Regions from separate parts of the Homo sapiens genome. Here all the other regions are linked to region 1. The links are contacts of gene promoters, found by promoter capture Hi-C in blood cells and fetal thymus (Javierre and others, 2016). All regions are on one chromosome and are shown on one strand. The core of a region is centred on a gene start or on the middle of the fragment in contact, and the rest is flanking DNA. Distances in the headings are between cores, read along the strand shown. Region 1 holds the start of KIF13B (kinesin family member 13B). Region 2 overlaps DCTN6 (dynactin subunit 6). Region 3 has its middle 80 kb from the start of EXTL3-AS1. Region 4 overlaps SARAF (store-operated calcium entry associated regulatory factor).

What was found. The method cuts DNA at HindIII sites, captures the fragments that hold promoters and counts their contacts. A CHiCAGO score of 5 or more calls a contact.
Region 2: a fragment that was not itself captured here is called in contact with the fragment with the promoter of KIF13B in region 1 in 1 of 17 cell types (fetal thymus); the score reaches 5.3 in fetal thymus.
Region 3: a contact is called between a fragment that was not itself captured here and the fragment with the promoter of KIF13B in region 1, in 2 of 17 cell types (non-activated CD4 T cells and fetal thymus). The highest score is 7.9, in non-activated CD4 T cells.
Region 4: a fragment that was not itself captured here is called in contact with the fragment with the promoter of KIF13B in region 1 in 1 of 17 cell types (naive CD8 T cells); the score reaches 7.2 in naive CD8 T cells.

The regions. Positions count from the first base shown.
Region 1 is chr8:29,261,249-29,267,630 of GRCh38, reverse strand. KIF13B (kinesin family member 13B) reads left to right here and starts at 4,561. Exons shown (of 40, transcript NM_015254.4): 1 at 4,561-4,651. The coding sequence starts at 4,597. RefSeq lists a silencer at 4,354-5,183. The HindIII fragment of the contact is 3,487 bases long and covers 2,290-5,776 here.
Region 2 is chr8:30,160,197-30,166,350 of GRCh38, reverse strand. DCTN6 (dynactin subunit 6) reads right to left here. Exons shown (of 7, transcript NM_006571.4): 2 at 2,176-2,240. Among named protein-coding and RNA genes, the nearest start is that of DCTN6-DT, 6.6 kb to the right of the region's middle. The HindIII fragment of the contact is 5,050 bases long and covers 1-4,803 here.
Region 3 is chr8:28,618,206-28,624,738 of GRCh38, reverse strand. It overlaps a transcript of EXTL3 not described here. Among named protein-coding and RNA genes, the nearest start is that of EXTL3-AS1, 80 kb to the left of the region's middle. RefSeq lists silencers at 1,982-2,241, 2,163-2,599. The HindIII fragment of the contact is 1,685 bases long and covers 861-2,545 here.
Region 4 is chr8:30,060,164-30,066,637 of GRCh38, reverse strand. SARAF (store-operated calcium entry associated regulatory factor) reads left to right here. Exons shown (of 6, transcript NM_016127.6): 5 at 499-650; 6 at 2,725-3,635. The coding sequence ends at 2,750. Among named protein-coding and RNA genes, the nearest start is that of SARAF, 20 kb to the left of the region's middle. The HindIII fragment of the contact is 2,244 bases long and covers 968-3,211 here.

The DNA of each region.
Region 1 (6,382 bases), core at 3,312-5,811:
CAAAAATTAGCCGGGCATGGTCGTGGGCGCCTGTGATCCCAGCTACTCGGGAGGCTGAGGCAGAAGAATCACTTGAGCCCAGGAGGAGGAGGTTGCAGTGAGCCGAGACTGTGCCACTGCATTCCAGCCTGGGCGACAGGGCGAGACCCTGTCTCGGAAAAAAAAAAAAAAAAGAGAAAAAAGAGAGAGAGAAAAACCAGGACTTTTCTCTCTGTCTTGCTGGAGCCTGTGCTGAACCCTGAATCCTGTTGATAGTTCTCCAATTTCATTTGGTGTTGAAGCCCCTGAAACTCCCAGGCTGCAGGTTGTAACTTGCAATTTGGTCCTCTGTCTCCCGCCTATCAGAGGAACACTTTCCATGGGAAGATATGGGCATTTCTAGTCTTGGGCTCTCTCTCTTTTTTTCTTTTTCTTTTCTTTTCTTTTTTAGAAGACGGAGTCTCACTTTGTCGCCCAGGCTGTAATGCAGTGGCGCGATCTCAGCTCACTGCAAGCTCTGCCTCCCAGGTTCACGCCATTCTCCTGCATCAGTCTCCGGAGTAGCTGGGACTACAGGTGCCCGCCACCACGCCCAGCAAATTTTTTTTGTATTTTTAGTAGAAACGGGGTTTCGCTGTGTTAGCCAGGATGGTCTCCATCTCCTGACCTTGTGATCCACCCGCCTCGGCCTCCCAAAGTGCTGGGATTACAGGCGTGAGCCACCGCGCCTGGCTGGGCTCTCTTTTAAGAATCATCTTCACTGCAAAAGTCAAAGGAGACAGAGTAGTATGAACAGAAGTCAAAAGGGGAAACAGCTCACAGGGGTTCTTCCCTGCAGTCCCTAGGGAGGCTACTGTCCTTTTCCTCTAAATATTTTCAGAACATTTTAAATGGTTTTGAGGACTTTAGAGAAAGTCCTCACTTCTTCTCTATTCTATTCTTCCCTTCCTTGAGGTCCTTAGGGGCTTTCCTCTCTTTTCAGTTTCAGCTTAAGTTTAAACACAATATTTCCATAGAAATGTTCTCTTGTTCTCTTTTTCTGCCTGCTTTGACTCTGTTTAAAAAGCCAGATTCAAGCTAGCACCAGGACGTGCCATTTAAAAATTAAATTTACCTGGTTATAAAAGAGATATAAAGTGACGTATGGAATCTTGGGACATTCCAAATCCTTATTTTTTATAACCTGAATGTAGGGAGGTGGTAATTAGGATGTGTGTTTAAGACAAGAGTACCAACCTGTGGTAACCAGTCTGGGGCCATGGCAAAGGTGACTTCAACACTAAATAAGAGCAAAAGAACAGTAGGGCAAAACAATTTCAATATAAAATCATACCCTTTATGATCTTTTTTAAAAAAAAAAAAAGATAGTGATGGTAGATAGTAATTTTTGTGTGCATTCTTTTTCAAATAATTTACTCGGTGACCTAGCACAATGGCTCACACCTGTAATTCCAACACTTTGGGAGGCTGAGGTGGGAGGATCACTTGAGGTCATGGGTTCAAGACCAGAGTGGGTAACATAGCGAGACACTGTTTCTACAAAAAATTTAAAAATCAGCTGGGCATGGTGGTGCATGCTTGTAGTCCCAGCTACTTGGGAGGCTAAGGTGGGAGGATCGCTTGAGCCTGGGAGGTTGAGGCTGCAGTGAGCTAAGATGGTGCCACTGCACTCCAGCCTGGGCACAGAATGAGACCCTGTCTCAAAAAAATATATACTTGCTAAAATTAAGAAGCTGTCATAGTGTCAAACACTGAGATTGGCAATCCTAATTTGGTTATCCTGATGTTGTTTACTTTATTGGGCTGTGAAAATCAAAGGACCTGCTGCACTAAACCCACTGCTGGTCTAGATGAGACCTCCTGAAGTGCAGAGGCAGTGCCCCTAAGAAAGAAATTTCCTTTTTTAAAAAAGAGGGCCTTCTGGGGTAGCATTTTCTATTTTTAACCTTTTTTGAAATTTTGATAAAAAACACGTAACATAAAACTTACTATTGGCCAGGCACAGTGGCTCACACCTGTAATCCCAGCATTTTGGGGGGGCTGAGGTGGGTGGATCACTTGAGGTCAAGAGTTTGAGACCAGCCTGGCCAACATGGTGAATCCCCATCTCTATTAAAAATATAAAAATTAGCTGTGTGTGATGGTGCACACCTGTAATCCCAGTCACTCTGGAGGCTGAGGCAGGAGAATCACTTGAACCCAGGAGGCAGAGACTGCAGTGAGCAGAGATCATGTCACTCACTGCATTCCAGCCTGGGCGACAGAGCAAGACTCCATCTCAAACAAACAAACAAACAACAACAAAAAGCTTACCATCTTGGCTGGGTGTAATGGCTCACACCTGTAATCCTAGTGCTTTGGGAGGCTGAAGTGAGGAGGATTACTTGAGGCCAAGAGTTCAAGACCAGCCTGGACAACATAGCGAGACTCCATCTCTACCAAAAAATGAAATATAAAAATTAGCTAGGTGTCGTGGTGCGTACCTGTAATTCCATCTAGGTGAGAGGCTGAAGCAGGAAAATCGCTTGAGCCCAGGAGTTTGAGGCTGCAGTGAGCTATGATCACACCACTGCACTCCAGTCTGGGCAAACAGAGCGAGATCCTGTCTCTAAAAAAACCCAAAAAACCTTACTGCCTTAACCACTCTTAAGTGGTTAGGTGGCGTTAAGTACATTTACATTGTTGTGCAACCATCACCACCATTCATTTCCGCAGCTGAAATCTTCCCAAGCCGAATCTCTGCACCCATTGAATACTAACTCCTCATACCCCCTTCTCCTAGCCCTTAGTAACCTCCAGTCTACTTTCTATCTCCATGAATTTGACTACCATGTGTATCTCATATATGTAGAACCATGCAGTGGTTGTTCTTTTGTGTCTGGCTTATTTCACCTAGCATAATGTTTTCAAGGCCCATCATCCATGTTGCAGCATGTTTCAGAATTTCCTTTCTTTTAAAGGTATTTTTAGACCGGACACAGTGGCTTATGCCTGTAATCCCAGCACTTTGGGAGACTGAGGTGGGTGGATCACCTGAGGTCAGGAGTTCGAGACCAGCCTGGTCAACATGGCAAAACTACGTCTCTACTAAAAATATGAAAATTAGCCAGGATTGGTGGCACATGCCTGTAATCCCAGCTACTGTCGAGGTTGAGGCATGAGAGTCGCTTGAAGCCAGGAGGTGGAGGTTGCAGTGAGCCGAGATCATGCCACTGTACTCCAGCCTGGGTGACAGAGCTAGATCCATCTCAAAAAAAAAAAAGTATTTTTATACTTTTTGACAACATTGCTTGTATTGAAGATACTCAATAACAGGATGGTTGGTAAAAGGGCAAGTCTTACCAGCTTTCTGTATTTACTCATCTGTAAAATGGTTCTGAGTTCTATTACTATCATTTAAACACATCTAAGCAGGGGTCACAAACCCACAAGGTCCAGGCGCATGTGTGGTAAAGCCACCTGGAGGGGGGCCGTGGTGAAGTGGAGAGACGGGTCTCTGATAAAGGTGGCTGCTGCTATTTAGTTCCAATCCACTCTGTCCAATATGTAATGTAGGCCCAGTACTGCATGCACAAATCTGATTTCACACTCTGTTACCCAAGCTGGTCTCAAACTCCTGGCCTCAAGCAATCCTCCTGCCTCAGCATCCTAAAATGCTGGGATTCCAGGTGTGAGCCCCTGCACCTGGCCACAAATCTGATTTTTATGTGTTGGCCAACACTGTTGGGCCAAACAGAACATGTTTGCGTGCTGGCTCTGGCACCCAGGCCACCTGTTAGAATGTCTGCCAGGGCTAATAAAAAGCTAATTTTAGTGTGGCCTCATTCATTAATTCATGCAATTAATGTTTATGGGTCTCTACTAAAGGCTAGGTTACACATATGTTAATCTTATTTAAAAATGTACCTATTTTACTAGGTATTAGTATCATATCCACTTTTCATATTAAAGACAAGCCCAGAGCGGTCAAATAACTTGCCCCTGGTCACACAGTGGGAAGCGCTGAGGTGGGCTTTGAACTCAGATGGTTTTCAGAGCCCAAGGTCCTGTCTCAAAGGAGGGGGACTCACAGGACAATGTTAACCCGTGGACCTATGGACACTCCCAGAAAACGTGATTTGCAACTTGTCGTGAAGGACGAGCTCAGCAAACAAGGCCGGACGTCAATCCAGGCAGAGGAAATAACTTGAGCCAGGGATCAAACACTAAGATTGGCAGGAAATGAGCAGGAAGAGGTAGCGGGGTCCCTGACGCCATCTATTCAATTGTTTTTCAGAAGAGGTATCAGCTCTTGAAGGCTTACTTCTCAATACTGGCTGCGAGAGCAAGAATGGTGTGTAATTTACAAAAGCCGTCATTGCTGTAGGTAAGTTGTAGCAAACGACTCGCGCCCGAGCATTCCCGCCCCCGCCTTCGCTGCGGCCCCGCCCACGACGACCCTGGGGAACTACAAGTCCCGCCATACAGCGGGGAGCGCCCGGAGCTCGCGCCGGCCCCGCCCCCAGCCCGGTCCCCACCCCCGGCTCCGCCCCCGGCCCCCTCCCGCCGGGTCAACCCCGAAGAGTCGCCGGTGGCCGCGGCAGACGGAAGCCGAACGAGTTCCTCGGCGGCTGCAGGATGGGGGACTCCAAAGTGAAAGTGGCGGTGCGGATACGACCCATGAACCGGCGAGGTGAGAGCCGAGCCCTCCTGGGCCGCCGGGGCGGAGGCGGCAGGTGCCTGGCGCGCCCTTCCCTCGGCCGCCGTGGGGGGTCCGGCGGCCCCGCCCCTATAGTCAGCGGCGGGGCGCGAGGAGGGGCCCGGGGACCCTGAAACCCGCTCCCGCGCTGAGACGCCCGGCTCCCTCTTCTCCCCTCCCTTCCCCCCTGGCCAGCCCCGTCCCTGGCGCCGTCGGGCCCCTCGTGCCGGCCCCGCTGCCCCTTCCGCCTGCGCCCGCCCCGCCCCTGCGCCCTTTTGCCCTCTCGTCTCCCCCGGAGGTTCCCGAGGGCGCCCTCGGCCCTCGCGCCCAGCCTCGTCCTGGCCCCTCAGCCTCGCTCCTTCCCCGCCAGCTGTCATCGTCGCCCCCGCGCGCGGGTCGCCAGCCCCTGCAGCCCGCCTCGGGACCGCCCGGGACCCCCCGGGACCCCGCGTCTCGCCCGGGTCGCCCAAGCCTGCACCGCCTTGGCCCGCGGCGGGAAGAAGGGCAGGGGGCCAGGCGGGTGCCCCGCGGCGAGTTCCTTCCACCTGGGCGTCCTGAGATTGGGGTCAGGTGGAGGAGATGCCCTTTTCGTTGTTTTTGGACAGTTGAGAAAGTTTTGGTTTTGCCTGAAGTCTCATTCATCATCTCTCAATAAATAGCTAAAGTGCCAAGATTCTTGTGGAATTGTATCTTTCTGACATTCTCTTAACTCTGCAGGGAGTGTAGAGAAGGCAGATAAACCGAGTACATTTAAATAATCTGTAGACCCGGGGAGTGGAGAGAACCCCAAAAGTCAGGGGAGGAGGTGGGCTGGGTCTTGGCTTTGATAGTCAAAGCAGCATGACTGGGTGAGTTGCTTTAAATAAGATAATGTGTTTGAAAACGCTTTATATACAAGGTCCTGTCATTGGGGGTCACTATTACTGTCTCAGGAGATGACTTTGCCATTGATGAGACTTTGAACTAATTAGAATCATTTAAGTACCAGAGACAAAGTTGTAGCTTCTTAGCAAAATCAAGTGTTGTTTAATTTTTATGTAGAAATTATAGGTTGTTTTCCTCTTCTTTGCTTTCTTTTGTATATATTGAGACATACAGATCAACCAGTTGACATAAGCTTTGTTGGTTTGTCCTTCTCGGGGAAATTGGTTTCTCGCTTGGAGTTATCTCATCTATGGGAATTGTTTTGTCCTGTTCCTGCTAGGTCCGATTAAAGCTGTCAGGTGAGTTTTTTTCCCTAAGAACTTAATTACTTTAAGTTCTCAACTAGTGCAAGATTGAGTCCTGCTTTGCTTCACTAATCTCGTGCTCTGACAACACACAATAAACGTCGATACAATTCTGAAAATTTTCAGAAGCATCAGTTTTTAAATATTCAGGTATCTGTATTTCAGTTTACTTCCAGTTTACCATCACAATAATTTAAAGAAAGAAGCCAAATGAAACATAACTTATCTGGGAATTGATTCTGAAAGGATGGTTTCAGCACATTCTTAAAATTTCCTTTTCACAAAAAACTTGGAAATGTCAGTGCTAAAAAGAGGCCGCTAACCAACCACCACAAAAGACATCTCAGATATTTAGAGCCCTTTCCCTCTCCCTTTCCCCATTGGTTTCACTTTTTGAGGGAAATTCTTATGCTTTTCTCTTATAAATTGCCATTGATAAGGTTGTAATAAACATCAGAGTTTAGAGGAAGGCAAAGAATAATAGTTTTAGCTGTGG
Region 2 (6,154 bases), core at 1,029-3,528, 900 kb before region 1:
ATAGCGAGACCCTGTCTCAAAAAAAAAAAAAGAAAGAAAAAAAAAACCAAAACGGGGTTGTTGTAACATTGGGGGATTTAAAAAAAAAAGAAAAGAAAAAATGTAAAATGGGGAAGAAGTAGAAATGCCAGGGAAAATCTACATAATTAATTACATCACTTCAGTCTTACTTTCCTTCTAACTGAAGAATGCATTGCAAACTACTATAAGGTATTATTCCTAGAATATCATGATGATAGCCACAATTATAATGCAGTAAAATGATGAGTAAAAAGAACACAGAGGAGCATTTTGATAAATATGTGGTCCCAGTCTGCAGTAGAGATTGTAAAAAATTAAAAAACATAACTTTCCTCATTTTGCTTCATAAACACTTCGCAAGTGGTTTAGGTAATACAAAAGACAAAGAGTTACCACGGCACTGAAAAGAAATAATTAAATCAACCAACCTGGCAAATTCTTTTTTCTTTTTTCTTTTTTTTTTTTTCTGAGAAGGAGTTTCGCTCTTGTTGCCCAGGCTGGAGTGCAACGGCGCGATCTCGGCTCACCGCAACCTCTGCCTCCCAGGTTCAAGCAATTGTCCTGCCTCAGCCTCCCGAGTAGCTGGGATTACAGGCATGCACCACCATGCCCAGCTAATTTTGTATTTTTAGTAGTGACGGGGTTTCTCCATGTTGAGGCTGGTCTTGAACTCCTGACCTCATGTGATCCGCCCGCCTCAGCCTCACAAAGTGCTGGGATTACAGGCGTGAGCCACCGTGCCCGTCCTAACCTGGCAAATTCTTAACAATGTTCCATAATACTGGCACAATCTCCACTGGTTTTATAAGACAAGATGCCTAAATTGTTTGGAGGCTTAGATTTTTTTTTGGAAAAAAAAAATGACGTTACAGGGTTTTTTTTTTTTTCATTAAAGAAACTGTTCATTTAAGGAAATAAAGTGTATTTCCTCTCTGAAAGTGTAATAGTTCACTGAACACTTTAGTCTGGTAGCATACAGGTGACATGCGGCTGCTGGTAAGAATGAGCTCACACCAATAAAACTACAAGGGCACCATATCCAGGTAAACCCCAGTTAAAAGAACAGAGTAAAATGTTTGAGGAACTTAGTCAAGTTCACGTAAGTAAAATGTTGGACTTGAACTCTGGCAAGGCTACACTGAGAAGATCTGACAGCGTTAACAGCAAATATTTATTGACAGCTTACTACTCACAATTTTCATGTTTTCTTTCAAGAAACCTAGGAGGTAGATACTACTATTTTGCATGTTATGAAAATTGCTCATTGCCATCCAATATCTCTTCTCCTCTTTTTCCTTGTAATAGAACCCTGATCTCATTAGCGGCTGCAATGCAACCAGCTAAGACTACAACTCCCAAACTCCCTTGCAGCTTGATGTGTCCATGAGATTGTCTTAGCCATGAGACACACAGAGGAGGGTCGTGTGGAACTTTCAGGAAGGCTGTTTAAAGGGAGCTGACTCACAGCTGGAACACATGCCCTTTTGCTTCCACGCCTCCCCTTTCTCATCCAAGATGATGCTTGGTGCTCTAGCCATCACTTCCTGGCCTGCAGGGCCGGAGCTCCATGCTGGACAATCAACCGATCAGCCCTCCATTACTCACCTTGAAACTTTTTATATGAGAGAATAAACCTCTGCAGGTGTAAGCCACCCCTACATGCAGCCGAACCTGATCCTGATACACACAATTATATAGATGGGAAAAACATCAAGGTTAGAGAGGTTAAGTAATATGTTCAAAGTAACCCAGCAAGAAAGGAGCAAGGAGCAGAGTAGCCCAGGTCTGTTGACTCCATGGCCCACGCTCTCCACGAAGCTCCACAAAGGCAGCACCTTTGTCTGCTGTGCTTACTGACGTGTCTCTAGCACTAGCACAGTGCCTGGCACATCGCAGGTACACAACAGATCTCTCTTAAATACATGAATGACTTTGTTATACAGCCTCATTAGTATTTCAGATAGGAGTTTAAACACAGCCTCCATCACACTACATTCTTTCAGAAATTTAAACACATAGGAGAAAATGCATTATTTTGTCAATAAAACTAGGACATCAGTGAAATAAACATGGAAGACGGTATCTAATTGTAAAGCACTAAAATAGATTAAATCACATCAATTCTTGAAAAACAGTAAATAAACTATTTCTTACCGATAGTTACATCTCCTCTGATTTCACTTTCTACACATACAACTGCTCCAGGAGCAATCTTCACACTGTAGCAAGAAAAAGGTAACATTTACCAGGGGTAAGATTAAACATACTGTTGGAGGAGCTACCGTGACATTGTAATGAAAACAAGGTTTAAAAAATGATGGAAAAAAAGGCCAGGCGCAGTGGCTCACGCCTGTAATCCTAGCACTTTGGGAGGCCGAGGTGGGGGGATCACCTGAGGTCAGGAGTTCGACACCAGCCTTACCAACATGAAGAAACCCCATCTCTACTAAAAATACAAAACTAGCCAGGCGTGGTGGCGAGCACCTGTAATCCCAGCTACTTGGGAGGCTGAGGCAGGAGAATCACTTGAACTCGGGAGACAGAGTTTGCAGTGAGCCGAGATCGCGCCATTGCACTCAAGCATGGGCAACAAGAGTGAAACTCTGTCTCAGGAAAAAAAAAAAAAAAAAGATGGAAAAATGGAAAGTCAATGGTAAGAGGGTAAGGTTTTAATACATTATAAATTTTTCAATTGGTATATTGTCCATCATCCCAAATCACATGTGCTAAAACACTTGAGAAGAGTTTTGAATCTTTTCTTTTAATAGCAGCACGTTTCTAAACAACAAAAAGCTGAAAACAACCTAGATATTCATCAGTGGAAGATTAGTTAATAAATTATGGCACATTATGGACTATTACATGGCCATCAAAAAGAATGAATAATCTCTTGTCAAGATTTTGGAATGGCTGAGCACAGTGGCTCACACCTGTAATCCCAGCACTCTGGGAGGCCAAGGAAGGAGAACTGCTTAAGCCCAGGAATTCAAGACCAGCCTGGGCAACATAGTGAGACCTCATCTTTTTTTTTTGAGACAGAGTTTCACTCTTGTTGCCCAGGCTGGAGTGCAATGGCACCATCTCGGCTCACTGCAACCTCTGCCTCCCAGGTTCAAGCAACTCTCCTGCCTCAGCCTCCCTAGTAGCTGGGATTACAGGCATGTGCCACCACACCTGGCTAATTTTGTATTTTTAGTAGAGACGGGGTTTTTTCAGGTTGGTGAGGCTGGTCTCGAACTCCCGACCTCAGGTGATCCACCCACCTCAGCCTCCCAAAGTGCTGAGATTACAGGCATAAGCCACCGTGCCCGGCGACCTCATCTCTTAAAAAAAAAAATATGGAATGATCTCCAAGCTATATTGTTAAAAGTAAAAAAGAGTGAAGTGAGAAAATGGACAGTATGTAATATGCCATTATTTTTGTAAAGGTAGGAAGAAAAAATATACATTCAAACTATTTAACAACCAGCAAGGTAATACTAACTTAGAAATTTAAAATTTACAAATGTTTCTGTTTACTCTCATATATATATATACATACACATATATGAGAAACTTTTTACCAAGTAATATAAATTGTAGTACAAATTCTTCAAAAGACTCTAATAATTTCCATATAACTTATTGATGCTTTTTTATATTCTGCTGTTATCTTTTGTTTGACAAAGCTGTATGTAAACACTGACCCTAGCTGAACCATGAGCTGACATGAGGAAGTACATCAAATGACTTCTCCATTACAGTGATAGTTATTAGGAAACTTCTTTTCATTAATAAAAGAATTTTTCTAAATGGCAATGACATTCATGGTGTTAAATCTGCTCTCAGCTACTATGAAATAACACTAACATTTTAGATATTTTGTCTTTGTAATTTTGTTTGGATTTTTCAAAATTTTGATTTCCAATTGTCACAGTATACAGAAATACAATAGTTTTGGGCTGGGCATGGTGGCTCACACCTGTAATCCCAGGACTTTGGGAGGCCAAGGTGGGTGGATCACTTGAGGTCAGGAGTTTGAGACCAACCAGCCTGGCCAACATGGCAAAACCCCGTCTCTACTAAAAATACAAAAATTAGCCGGGCATGGTGGTGGCCTGTAGTCCCAGCTACTGGGGAGGCTGAGGCAGGAGAATGGCATGAACCCAGGAGGCGGAGCTTGCAGTGAGCCGAGGTAGCGCCACTGCACTCCAGCCTGGGTGACTGAGCGAGACTCCATCTCGAAAAGAAAAGAAAAGAAAGGTGTAAATGTTTGTGCAAGAATGCTTATGTAAAAATATTAAGGCTGGGCGTGGTGGCTCACACCTGTAATCCCAGCACTTTGGGAGGCCAAGGCTGGCGGATTGCGAGGTCAGGAGATCGAGACCATCCTGGCTAGCACGGTGAAACCCCGTCTCTACTAAAAATACAAAAAATTAGCCGGGCGTGGTGGTGGGCGCCTGTAGTCCCAGCTACTTGGGAGGCTGAGGCAGGAGAGTGGTGTGAACCCAGGAGGTGGAGCTTGCAGTGAACCAAGACTACGCCACTGCACTCCAGCCTGGGCGACAGAGTGAGACTCTGTCTCAAAAAAAAAAAAAAAAATTAAAACACAATTTTATCTATTCTATCTATTTTTAAATACCATATGCATACATCTAAGCAAAGACTGGTAAGTAACAAAGTAAAAACCTCTTCCCCCCTCCCAGGTTGGACATCACTGAATGAGAAGAAGCACAAAAATCATGAAGAGAAAGGGAGCAGGTAAGGCTGGGAGGAAAAGCAGGATCAGCCCATGAATAAGCTTGTACACCATGACCAGGGATTTGAATTTGCACCTGTAGGCAAGAAGTCACTGAAGGATTCCTATTCCCAAGCCAACAATGTCACCAAATGGTATGCAGATAATTGACACTTGTATGAAGAAGTACTTGGTGGTGGGGGGGGTCAGGGAGGCAGTTGGTCTAATCCTACAGAGATAATGCAGGCCTGAAATGCTGTATTAGTCCATTTTCACACTGCTCTACAGAACTTCCCTGAGAATGGGTAATTTATAAAGGAAAGAGGTTTAATTGACTCACAGTTCCACATGACTGGGGAGGCCTCAGGAAACTTACAATCATGGCGGAAGGTAAAGGGGAAGCAGACACCTTCTTCACAAGGCAGCAGGACAGAGAGACAGTGTGAGCGCAGGAAAAACTACCATTTATAAAACCATCAGGTTTCACAAGAACAGCATGGGGGAACCACTCCCATAATCCAATCACTTGGATTACGGGTCCCTCCCTCAACAGGTGGGCATTATAATTCAAGATGAGATATGATGGGGACACAGGGCCAAACCATATCAAATGCACTGGTAGCACATAGGAGAAGCTGCAGGTATGTCTAGGAAATAGAAACAAGACTTGGCAACAAACACATTTAATAAAAATCTGGTTTCTAGGCAACGTTGAAGGTAGGTATTTCCCATTCCTTGTTACAGGCCCCATGGACCACAAAGTGCATACAGTCGCATCCCTCAGTACCCAGTATCTGTGGGAGATTGGTTCCAGGACCAGTCCTCAGATGTTCAAGTCTCTGATATAAAATGCTGCAGTGTTTGCATAAAACCTATACACATCTTCTCATACTTTGTCATTTCTAGATAATTTACAATACCTAATACAATGTAAATGCTATGTAAATAATTATACTGTATTGTTTACAGACACAATTTTTTTTTCCTATTTTCGATCTGAGGTTGGTTGGATCCATGGATGTGGAACCCATGGATATAAAGAGCAAACTATATTTGCTTTCTTCTCTGTGCAGGGGAAGTAAGTTTGACTAGTGTATTGGTCTGTTCTCACACTGCTAATAGAGACATACCTGAGACTGGGTAATTTATAAAGGAAAGAGGTTTAATTGACTCACAGTTCAGCATGTTTGGGGAGGCCTCAGGAAACCTACAACCATGGCAGAAGGGGAAGCAAACACGTCCTTCTTCACATGGTGGCAGGGAAGAGAATGAGTGCCCAGTGAAGGGGGAAGCCCCTTATAAAACCATTAGATCTCATGAGAACTAATTCACTATCATGAGAACAGGATGGGGGAAACGGCTCCCATGATTCAATTATCTCCACCTGGTCCCTCCCACAACATGTGGGAATTATGG
Region 3 (6,533 bases), core at 454-2,953, 640 kb after region 1:
GTTCTTATGGTGTCGGTGACTATTAATAACTAGATTTTGGTTTTATCTTTTGGGTTTATTGTCCCTCCAGGGAAGTCAAAATGGTAATCACTAACATATACTAATTTTTTCTTGTTTTTAATCTTTTAAAGATTTGTTTCTTTTTACTCACAATTACAAAATGATTTTTATTTTTTGAGACAGGGTCTCACTCTGTCACCCAGGCTGGGGTGCAGTGGGGTGGTCTCAGTTCACTGCAACCTCTGCCTCCCAGGATCAAGTGATCCTCCCACCTCAGCCTACCAAGTAGCTGAGACCACAGGTGCTCACTACCATGCCGGCTAATTTTTTCATTTTTTGTAGACATGAGGTTTCGCCATGTTGCCCAGCATGGTCTTGAACTCTTGAGCTCAAGCAATCCTCCCACCTCGGCCTCCGGATGTTCTAGGATTACAGGTGTGAGCCACCACACCCGGCCTCACAATGCTTTTAAATGAATATTAACGTGAGATGTGGAATATTGTATGTAATAGGCAATTCATAATTTCACATTTTGAAAAAGAACTGATAATTCCAGAGCAAAGTACTCAGAGTTTGTTAAGGACCAGCAGGAATTTCTGCTTAACAAAATATTTAGAATCCCAACAACTCTGAGACTTATCTCCTTTCCCTGGGGATAGGTAAGGTGAGAACAATTGGAAAGAATTTTCTTCAGTTCTGGGGATGAGGAGAATTTTCTTATTATCTCAAGTCAACAGGTATGACTGTCTAGCAAAAAAGGAATGTGAGTTCATTGCTAGCATTTTAGACTTGGAATGAACAATAAATATAATATTAATAGTTCAACCTTCTCAGAGGCAGAAACGTTTTAAAACCAAGCTTGCCTGATTTCCCATCTGCTGCCTTTTACGAGCAGCAAATTTGTTAAGGAGGATCATGTTTACCTGATGAATATCTTTCAGTTTTCCTAATTATAACCTTTATTACTAAATGCCTAAAGGAGTTCACAAGTAAAATCAACCAATTCGTATTTATGGGAATGAAAATATAGGGGGAAGGTTTTAAATAAAAACATATCTTTAAAAACATGAATTATGTTACATGGGGGATAAGGATCAAAAGACACACGTGCTTTGCCAAGCCTTGAAAAGTAGGCAAAGATGGGGTCTAGACTTTCAGCATGGAGCCTTCAGGACAGGACATGCTTACCAAGGGGTGAGACTGAACGGATGGAGCCCTGCAGGGTGACCCAGAAACAGGCTGAGGACAAACACCAACAAAACTCAGCATTCCGAGCGCCCCCTATTCCCGGGCTTCCAATCTGCCAAACTTAACTTTTGAAAAGCTCAAATTGTGGGATCCCAAATTAAAGTCAGCTGTGCTGAGGGGCTCGCAGGTACGGCTGGCTTTGGGGTCCGCATTCTGTGGTGTCCTCTGGGGTAGGTGTGTTTGGGGCTGCAGGGACTGGAGGGCACCCACGGCACGGGCTTACCCACGGGGACAGCGCCTCCTGACAGCGCGCGAGGCGGGCGCGTGGCAGATGCCGCTTACCCCGTACCCGAGGCAGCAGGGGTCGGGACCCCCGCCCACAGTGTGATACGGACCCCTGCCGACAGCCACACTCTCCCAGTTCTCACAAATTCCCGCCTCTGTAGAAACCCAGCCCAGCCCACCCCGGAGTTCACGTCCACACTCCGAGGCAGGGGACATGGACCGCGAGCTTGCAATCGCCCGCCCCAGACGCCCAGAGCAGGCGCCCCACGTCCGGCCCGCGGGCAGGACGACGGGGCCAGACAAAGAGTTTTAAAATCGATCCCCCGGGTAAAGCCCGGGCTACAGCGAGAAGTGCGAAGCCGTCTCTAAATTTTAGCAGCTCGCCGCTTCTCCCGTTGGCACGACGAAGAAAAGACTTCCCACCCCCGAAAGGGAAGATCCCGAAGAGCCCCTACCTCGCTGCAGCGCCAGGTCCCGCGGTCTCCAGCGGCGGCCACTGCAGCCGGCGACAGCGCCAGCGGCCCGGCCCCGCCCTCTCCACGGTCCCGCCCCCTGAGGCCCCGCCCTCGGCTCACCGCATCCCCGGCCCGGCCGGCCGGCTCCCGGTCCCACCCACTGCCCCCTGGGAGGCTCCCGGCTCCGCCCCCCGAATACCCCGCCCACCGCCCCCTCGGCGGCTCCCGGCCCCGCCCCCTAACGCCCCGCCCACCGCCTCCGCGTCGGCTCCCGGCCCTTTCCTCGGAGGCCCCGCCCTCGCCGGCTCCCGGGCCCGCCTTCTCGCGGCCCCGCAGCTGGGTTCAAGACTGTCGTGCAGGCCCCAGAGCCCGGTGCATTGTGGGACGCCGCAGCCAATGCCGAGCCTGCGCTGCCTCCTGGCGGGCGCCGCTGCAACAACACCAGCACCCGGCTGCACACGGCGGAGGGCTATACGGCACCGGGCGCCTAGCGCAGAGGGCGCCGGTCGCTGGGGTCCGGTAAAACATGAAAATGAGCCGGATGCTTAGAGTGCGGGGCTACCTCCCGCTTAGCGACATAAGGAAACGCGAAAACAGCGTTAAGACTAGGGCAAGCTTTCGAAACTAGGGAAAATCATTACAAAGGATCAAACGAAATGACGTCAAGGGGAGGGAGAAACCTGCACGCGTCGTTTTTATTTCTGGGGAAACCACAGGTCAGCTCAGTCTAGAGAAGAACGGGGTTCTGTGTGACAGGGGCTAAAATTGGAATCCAGAACTCTTCCCGTACATGCCCCGAGGAAAAAGTTTAAATGCAGTTAAAAAATAAATTACACAAAAATGTAGTGAAAAATGAGAATATAACAAATGACTAGTAAGTCGCTATTTAAATAAGAATATGAACATTGTCACTACGTGGAAATATTTCTGTCATGCGATGTTAAGTGACAAACACACACAAGACAGCACGTGGCCAGTGATTTCAACTGTGGCAAATCTGCGTGTCCACAAACAGAAGAAGCAGCTTCCAAGTAGCTTAGAGTTTAATGCGTCTTAAGGTTCTTTATTTTTATTAGATCAGTTTTTAACGTTTCTGAGTGGTTGGGACTAATCCTAATTGTGGATGGCATTGCAATATTTCAGTTTTCCCTCACTGTAAGTAATAATTATAAAAAGTGATCCAGGAAGAAAACATTCTGAGGCGTTAGGGAACTATGACAATTTTGCTTGTCTGCAAACCCTGGTGGGGCACAAATGGAAAAGTACATTTAGCAGGGAGTGTATTGGTTAGCTAGCGCTGCTGTCAGAAAGTGCCATAAGCTAGGGGGCTAAATCAGCAGACGTGTGCTGTCTCACAGTCCTGGACGCTGGAAGCCTGTGTTCAAGGTGTGGGCAGTGTTGGTTCCAGTTCTGATGACTGTGAGGAAAGATTGTTTCAGGCCTCTCTCCTGGGTTGTAGATGGCCAGCTTCATGTACACGTGGCATTTTTCCTGTGTCCAAATATATCCCCCTTTTATAAGAACACCAGTCATATTAGATTTGGGGCCCACCCTACCCTACTCCAGCATGCCCTCATCTTAACTAATTACATCTGCAATCATCTGATTTCCAAATAAGGTCATATTCTGAGGTACTGGGGCTTAGGACTTCAGCCTGTCAGTGGGGAAGGAGGGGGACAATTCAGTGCACACCTGGAGATTCAAAGTGTAATCTTTGGAAAATCACACACACTGAATGACAAAAACAATCATAATTAACAGTAATGTACATGATCTTAAATGTATCAAAAAGCCAACAATGGGCACTGTGGCTCACATCTGAAATCCCAGCACTTTGGGAGGCTGAGAGGGGAGGATCGCTTGAGCTCAGAAGTTAGAGACCAGCCTGGGCAAGATAGCCAGACCCAGTCTCTACAAAAATAAGCAAGTTATCCAGGCATGATGGTGCCCACCATAGCCCCAGCTACTTAGTAGGCTGAGGCAGGAGGATCACTTGAGCCTAGGAGTTCAGGGCTGCAGTGAGCTAATGATTACATCACTGTACTACAGGCTGAGTGATAGAGTGAGACCCTATCTCTTAAAAAAAAGAAAAGAAAACAAAAGAAAAGCTAAACGGTTAAATATAGTCAAACCAAATTGATTACAGTGTTTTTGTTTCTGTTTAACACCTTTCTGGCCTTTCCAGTTTAACTGCGAGATGTTAATGAGCTAAGACAGCCTAGAGGCCATGAAGCCTACATGGGGTATGTAATGTGCCTGGATTCCGGTCCAAATGCCTGAGACCGGTGTAGGGGCAGCATCTCTTGCATTTGAACCTCAGGAACATGAGAGGACAGGGGTTGGCAGTTATGGGAAACAGCATCCCCATTCTTGGATGGCACACACAATCCATCCTGCTGAAGAACTCAGAGCTCTAGTTCAAGTTCCATAGGAGCCTGCAGAATGTGCTTGTGAACTGAGCCCTCTCTCAGTTAGCCTGACCACAGGGGTGAAATGAGAAGTTCTACAATGTTAGGAAGCACTGGCCCTGCCTGCTGAGGTGGTGGGGACCTAGCAGATCTCAGAGAAATGAAGCCCTGCCTGGCACTGTGGGATCAGTTTTTTTCTTGCAGGAGTCTGTCTGCAAGAATCAGAAGCCGGCCAGGCGCGGTGGCTCACACCTGTAATCCCAGCACTTTGGGAGGCCGAGGCGGGCAGATCACTAGGTCAAGAGATCGAGACCATCCTGGTTAACACAGTGAAACCCCGTCTCTACTAAACAGATATAAAAAAATTAGCCGGGCATGGTGGCAGGCGCCTGTAGTCCCAGCTACTCGGGAGGTTGAGGCAGGAGAATGGCGTGAACCCGGGAGGTGGAGCTTTCAGTGAGCCAAGATCGCGCCACTGTACTCCAGCCTGGGAGACAGAGCGAGACTCCGTCTCAAAAAAAAAAAAAAAAAAAAAAAAAAAAAAAAAAAAAAAAAAAGAACCAGAAGCCCTGTCGGCGGTGTACGGATACGGATGACAGCTGGCTCTCCAGAAATAAAAGCGCTAATGTGTGGTGTCTGCAGATGCCTGTGCTGTAATACTGCCACCCTCGCTGATTTCAAGCTCCTGACATGAGGTCACTGAACAAGGAGCTGGGGCCCAGGTGACTGAGTTAACAGGGTCTCAAAGTGGGGAGGCTGCCGGCAGGGAGCTGTATCTGGGAGCACCACGGGGAAAAGTAGACAGAAGAAACAGCCCTTAGGGGTTAGGAGCAGAACCTCCAACTGGCAGCAGTGGGAGAGGGGAGCTGGGAGCCATGGGCAGTGGGTCAGTCCAGGGAGGAGCAGCAGGGGTGGGGAATGGCAGGTAGCCCCGACACACCCGGAGGAAGCGTGTTCTTTCGGAGCGCAAAAGAGAGGCAATCCGAATTTTCAGGCGGGAGGAAAACACCCTTCTTTCGCTTCTCCCCCAGGAGACCTTGCCAGGAAGGTAGATATTTAGGTTAGAGCGTCCAGGGCTCACACAGGGTTTTTTTTTTTTTTTTTTTTTTTTTTTTTTTTTTTTTTTTTTTTTTTTTATCACTAAGCTAATTTCTACGTGGGCTTCCTCCCCAGTTTAGAGACTTGGTATCCAGGTGGGCCTTGAGAAGGACATATGGTCTCCTGTTAGAGCAGGGAAAACTCGTGCTAAATCAGGTAACAGAACTGAGACACAGGTGGGTCTGCTGTTTTTTTTTTTTTTTTTTTTTTTTTGAGACGGAGTCTCACGCTGTGTCCCAGGCTAGAGTGCAGTGGTGCAATCTTGGCTCACTGCAACCTCCGCCTCCCAGGTTCAAGCGATTCTCCTGCCTCAGCCTCCCTAGTAGCTGGGACTACAGGCACGTGCTGCCACGCCCGGCTAATTTTTTTTTTTTCTGTATTTTTAGTAGAGATGGGGTTTCATCGTGTTAGCCAGGATGGTCTTGATCTCCTGACCTCGTGATCCACCAGCCTCAGCCTCCCAAAGTGCTGGGATTAGAGGCGTGAGCCACCACGCCTGGCTTGTCTCCTGTTTCTTACACTGGCTTTTAGGGGCACTAGGGGCCGCTGGGGAGTGGGAGCTGGGCTAGAGCCTATTTTCTCGTGCCTGGCCTGACCCTGCGGGGTTCTCTCACTGCTTTCACCACTGTTCTCAGGCCATAAATCCCCCACACTTTTTGGAGTGATTTTGCCCACAGTCAAACCTGATCAGCCATATGCTCCTTCCTGCTTAGAAACCTTGCTGCGCCAGGTTCAACCTCTTTCGTGCCGGACGTGAGGCTTCTCCTGATCTGACCTCCACTCAGCTCCCCAGCTTCATTCACTGCCAGCCCTGGGTGACTTCATTGAACCCAGGTTCCCATTTCCCAACGAGCTTAGTTTGCTTCTAATTCTAGGCCTTTGCATTTTCCCCCTCTGAATTTTGTCTCTTTTCCATAGTTCCCTCAGTCTATTCCCATGCCAGGAATCTTGAGTCACATCTATTGTTTTACTATTATTATTATTATATACCTTTTTTTTAAGTAGAGATGGGGTTTCACCATATTGGTCAGGCTGGTCTTGAACTCCTGACTTCAGAGGACCCACCCGCCTCTGCCTCCCAAAGTACCTGGGATTACAG
Region 4 (6,474 bases), core at 840-3,339, 800 kb before region 1:
AAGGTACACTATATTTGTTTTGATCAGTATTGTGTATGTTATTTTCTTTCACTGTGTTTCTTCCTGTGTCACCTTCATATATATTATGAGATAAGAAAAAGACTGTTTAGTTGACATCTGAGAAAATAAGAAGGCAGGAAAGAAGACAGCATTTGGGGAACAGTCTGGTTTGGTAGGAGAATGATAAAAATAAGGCTGGAAAGAGCTTGGGGCCAGATTTTGGAATATGAAGTATTAATGGTAGTTTAAGTTTAGATTTTATTCGAGTGCAAATTCAGAAAGAGCATTGACTCCCTGTCACTTTTCCCCCATAGCAGTGACCATAATAATGGCAGAAATATGAAACGGTTTTTATTTCATGTTAACTCTGATATACCAGAACATTCAGGAAAAAATACTTGATAAAGATATTTTTTTCTGACAGTTTAGGAACAGGAAGGTATTTAAAAATTATAGCCACAAGAAAAAAATGCCTAACCTACTTTTATCCCTTTAAAGAGCGGCAACACCCTTCTCAGACTCGTGGTACTACCCGTCCTATCCTCCCTCCTACCCTGGCACGTGGAATAGGGCTTACTCACCCCTTCATGGAGGCTCGGGCAGCTATTCGGTATGTTCAAACTCAGACACGAAAACCAGAACTGCATCAGGTAAGAGCAAAAAATACAAGTTCCTTTTACCTAGGAGTAAAGTACAGAAATAGTTTGGGAACTTTAGAAGATGATTATCTGTTTAGCAACCATGGTTTTATTTGGTGTACCTACCAAAAATATTAATAGCACAGTTAACTGAGATCCCACTTTTAAACATTCTTTAAAAATCAAACAGGGATTTGATTTAGGCTTAGCTCTACCATAGACCAAGGTTTTAACTTGAACCTTACTGGGTGCTAGCTTCCCCATATATTTAATTCTGTGATCTCTAGAGATCCTTTAAGTTCTAAACTAGACTTTTCTAAGTAGAAGCTTAAACTTAAAATTCAATAACATTCAAAAAAGATATTGAGGTATACTTTAATTTTCAAAAATATGATTGTAATGTTTATTGGAATGCTCAGAGGATATTTTGTAAAAAGCAAAGATACAAAAAAAACAAAGGAATAACTGGATTAAGCATCAAGCCTAATTGGGAGCTGCTGGGTAAGGAGGCCATGAGAGATTGCTCTGGAGTAGCTTTGTCTTTCAGGAAAAGGAAGTTATAGAACAATGATTAATTCTTGAAATTGATAGAAAAATATATTTAAATATGTTTTAAAATGTGAGTAGAATTCTCATAATGCTGGTTTGGATATATATTGATACATTCAATTAAAAAAACTGGTACTACCTCCTAAAATTGAACCTATGCATACTTCCAAAGGACAGAGCAGTTTTGCTCTCAGATATATCGCCACAGAAATGCATACACTTGTGTGCTGGCAGATAAGCACAAGACTGTTCATAGCATCCCTATTCATAATTGCCCAAAACTGGAAACAGCCCACGTATCCATCAGCAGTAAAATGGATGAATAAATTGAGTTATGTTTGCTGTATTGCAGTGGGTTACTGTGCAACTAAGAATAAGTAGTTGTGTGCAATAACATGGATAGATCTACCAAATATAAAGAAGCCAGACACAAAATAATATATACACTATGATGATAGCAGTTACATTTTATAAAATACACATGCAAAAACAGGCAAAACTAATTTATGGTGTTAGAGTATGAGATAGTAGGTACTTCTGGGAAGAAAAAAAGGAGTTGGGAGAATATATAAAAATATGACTAGGTAAGGCCAGGCACGGTGGCTCACACCTGTAATACCAGCACTTTGGGAAGCTGAGATGGGTGGATCACCTGAGGTCAGGAGTTCGAGACTAGCCTGCCCAACATGGTGAAACCCCATGTCTGCTAAAAATACAAAAATTAGCTGGGTGTAGTGGCACATGCCTGTAATCCCAGCTATTTGGGAGGGTGAGGCAGGAGAATCGCTTGAACGCGGGAGGCAGAAGTTGCAGTGAGCCGAGATTGCACCATTGCACTCCAGCCTGGGCAACAAGAGCAAAACTCTGTCTCAAAAAAAAAAAAAAAAAATATATATATATATATATATATATATATGGCTAGGTAAGACATCATGACAGAAAAATATTCATTCTCAGTGGAAAGAAGACTTGCATAAAATCATGACTATGAACTAGAAATGTATGGGAATTATATGAAAGAAAATCATAAAAACCAAATAATGTAAACCTGAAAATAATTGAGAGACTTTCTAGATAGGAAGATTTGTCATCCTGTAGCCTGTGTGTGTGCGCACAGTGTCTTAAGTAACGTTTAAGCATCTAAAGTCCGTAACCCTCCCCACATTACGTCTCTTACCACTGGAGTTGTGAGAGGTAGCAGGGCATGGCTTATGCGCCACTGGCCTCTGTCTTTTTGGCTTAGACTTTGAGTATTGCCTGTACCATGGTGGCCCCACTATAGAATGCATTCTCTTTTTTGGGGTCCTAACTGTCATTCCCAGCAACCATGTGTGAGTGTAGTAGGCTTGATGATTGGGAAGGTTGCTGTGGGAGGCGATGCACTGTCCTGCTTAGCCCAGTTCCACCTAGTGGCACACTCTTTCCTTTCCTCCTATCTCATTCATTTGCTGACAATAAACATGTATGACTTGTAATTTTATAAGCAATTCTAATGCATTTTTAAAAACTAATGTAAATTTTACCCCTCTCATTCTAGGATATGGTGGTACCAGGAGACGATAAAGTAGAAAGTTGGAGTCAAACACTGGATGCAGAAATTTTGGATTTTTCATCACTTTCTCTTTAGAAAAAAAGTACTACCTGTTAACAATTGGGAAAAGGGGATATTCAAAAGTTCTGTGGTGTTATGTCCAGTGTAGCTTTTTGTATTCTATTATTTGAGGCTAAAAGTTGATGTGTGACAAAATACTTATGTGTTGTATGTCAGTGTAACATGCAGATGTATATTGCAGTTTTTGAAAGTGATCATTACTGTGGAATGCTAAAAATACATTAATTTCTAAAACCTGTGATGCCCTAAGAAGCATTAAGAATGAAGGTGTTGTACTAATAGAAACTAAGTACAGAAAATTTCAGTTTTAGGTGGTTGTAGCTGATGAGTTATTACCTCATAGAGACTATAATATTCTATTTGGTATTATATTATTTGATGTTTGCTGTTCTTCAAACATTTAAATCAAGCTTTGGACTAATTATGCTAATTTGTGAGTTCTGATCACTTTTGAGCTCTGAAGCTTTGAATCATTCAGTGGTGGAGATGGCCTTCTGGTAACTGAATATTACCTTCTGTAGGAAAAGGTAGAAAATAAGCATCTAGAAGGTTGTTGTGAATGACTCTGTGCTGGCAAAAATGCTTGAAACCTCTATATTTCTTTCGTTCATAAGAGGTAAAGGTCAAATTTTTCAACAAAAGTCTTTTAATAACAAAAGCATGCAGTTCTCTGTGAAATCTCAAATATTGTTGTAATAGTCTGTTTCAATCTTAAAAAGAATCAATAAAAACAAACAAGGGGTTTAGTCTCATTCTTTCTATTAGCCTAGGCGCAAATAAATGTTACTTTTTGTTTTTTTAAACCCTTTTTCCCAAAGGGGAAAGTTCATGCAGAAGTTCTGTCTCCCTAAACAGTAATTTTATGTGGTAGTCGTACCTTAGTCTTTTGGTAAATGTTTTCAAAAAGTAATTTACAAATGGTGTGGAAGCCTCTGCCAAAAAATAGCGTTTGAAAAAAATAATTAAATCTCCAAGCCTCCCAACCCATCAGAGATTGCATGGTTACACTTAGTTAAGCTTCATAACCTCAAAGCCCCAGTTTTATATCTTATGTGTTTAATGATTTTTGCCATTTAAAACTGCAGTTACTTTTCACCAACCAATAAGAACCAATTTAAAACAAACCCTTATTAAGACTATTGCATAATAAAACTATCCTCTTTTCATCAGTAAAACAGTAGAAATTTTAACTGATAGAAGAAACACAGCTTTACTTTATGTATATCCCACTAAATCCTTACCCCATTTCTCCTTAGTAGAAGGATATGGAATAAAAGAGAATGTAGTTTGTTGCTTTTTTTTTTTTTTTGAGACAGAGTCTCTCGTTCTGTCACCAGGCTGGAGTGCAGTGGCATGATCTCGGCTCACTGCAACCTCCTCCTCCTGGGTTCAAGCAATTCTCCTGCCTCAGCCTCCTGAGTAGTTGGGATTACAGGCTCCTGTCACCAAGCCCAGCTAAGTTTTTGTATTTTTAGTAGAGATGGGGTTTCACTGTGTTGGCCAGGCTGGTCTCGAACTCCTGACCTCAGGTGTTCCACCTGCCTCAGCCTCCCAAAGTGCTGGGATTACACACGTGAGCCACCGCGCCCGGCTTACTCAGATTGTTTTTGAACATAGTACTGCAGATCATTGGGATTGTAAGAAAATAATGAGTTAATGTAAAGAGAGTTGACTGTTCTTCCTGTAGGCGATAGCTTTAAAAAAAAAGAGTTGACTTGGTGGCTTTTAGATTACTCTGGGGAGCCCTAGTGGTGTTCTTATGAGGTTCTTTAGAGGGTCCCTGGAGGGAAGGGAGGAAAAGAGGCAGAGTATAGGTTTCAAGCCCCACCTGAGTGTTCCTCTTTTATCTGTTGTGTATTTGTACTTCCTTGTCATTTAAGAACTTTTTTTTTTTTTTTTTTTTTTTGGTAGAGATGGTGTTTCACTATGTTGCTCAGGCTAGTTTCGAACTCCTGGCCTCAAACAGTCCTCCCACCATGGCCTCCCCAAGTGCTGGGATTACAGGCATGAACCACTACTCCCGGCCCTTTGTTGTCTATGGAAAAGGTTCACATGTATCACTTCCCCAAATGTAAAACTTAGAATAATAAGATAGTACAGTCTAAGGCAGGAGGATTGCTTAAGTCCAGGAGTTCGAGACAAGCCTGGGCAACATAGCAAGATTTCATCTCTACAGATTATTATTTTAATTAGCTGGGCATGGTGGTATGCACCTGTAGTCCTGGCTACTCCAGAGGCTAAGGTGGGAGGATCACTTGAGCTCGGGAGATTAAGGCTGCAGTGAGCTGTGATTTTGCCATTGCATTCCAGCCTGGGCAACAGGGTGAGACCTTGTCTCTTAAAAAAATAAGGTGAGAGCATTGATTGAGAAGCAGTGGGATCCTGAAAAGTGGAATGGGGACATAAGAAAGGATCCTGATGAAGCCAGTGAAATGGAACCCCTAAATTCTGCGTAGTATTTCTTGCCGGTAGAAGCAGCCCTTCTACTTCTGTCTGAGAAGGTTAATCCTACTTTGCCTGAAGGATCTGTAATGGTCTCTTCAGAGGTGTTCGTTACCAGGCATCACTCATCTGCCTCAGGGTCTGCCCTTGCTACCTGCTTTGCTCCTAGATGTACAGCTAGACTCACGTTCCAGTAGGCACCAAAGAGTGAGGTACAAATTATGATCCATGAGGAGGTACCCTGCACACCAAAAGGACTCCATGATTTTCCCAGTCTATACAGATAGAAATCTGGGGAATATGTGTGGGAATGGATCTTAGAGTGTAGGATATGGTGGTAGGACTGTAAAGTTCAGTCAGGACAACTTTATTGATATTGGCCCACTCAGCAGAGATTCTGGATTCAATATTTGAGAGGTTAGAAAGGACTCTTAACAGTTTAGTTGGTTTGCTGAACATGGACTCGAAGATGGCCTACACTAAAGTCAAAATGCCAGAACTGCCTCAGTGTACTGTGGAGGAAGGGATTCAAAGGCTCAGGGAGATTGGAATGTTAGGGTGGATTTATCATATAAGCCCCACCCACCCACCCTGGAGGAGTCAAGAGAATACACTTTTCACCATGATGGTGAGAAATAGATTTTTGAGAAGGAGGCCCACAAATTTGGTTTCTCTTCTTTGTAGGTCAGAATGTACAGTGGGAACTGCTACCATCAAACTGGGACCCCTAGAGGCAGTGGGGTTAATTTGATCCCAGGGTAGCAGGGGCCAAATGGTGACAATCAGCAAAGATAGCGTGGCATGGTTATGCTGTAATGGGCAGCAGAGTCAAAGCAGCCATCAGAATTGTTGGACTCAGGCCAGGAACACTGGCACATGACTGTAATCCCAGAACTTTGGGAGGCAGAGGCAGGAGGATTGCTTGAGGCCAGGAGTTTGAGACCAGCCTGGGCAATATAGTGAGACTCTATCTCTACAAAAAATTTTATGAAACAAAAATTAACAAGAATTGTCTGACTCAGAGACCTATGGCATTGGCTGGTTGATCATTGTGTACCTATGGAAGAAATAGATGGCAGTCTACTAAATTCTTATTTGATTTATGTATGTGGAAGAGTTCTAGGCTGAGTAAACGGAAGTCTTTTTTTTTTTTTTTTTTTTTTTTTTGAGACCAAGTCTCACTCTGTCACCCAGGCTGGAGAGAGCAGGGGCATGATCTCGGCTCACTGCAAC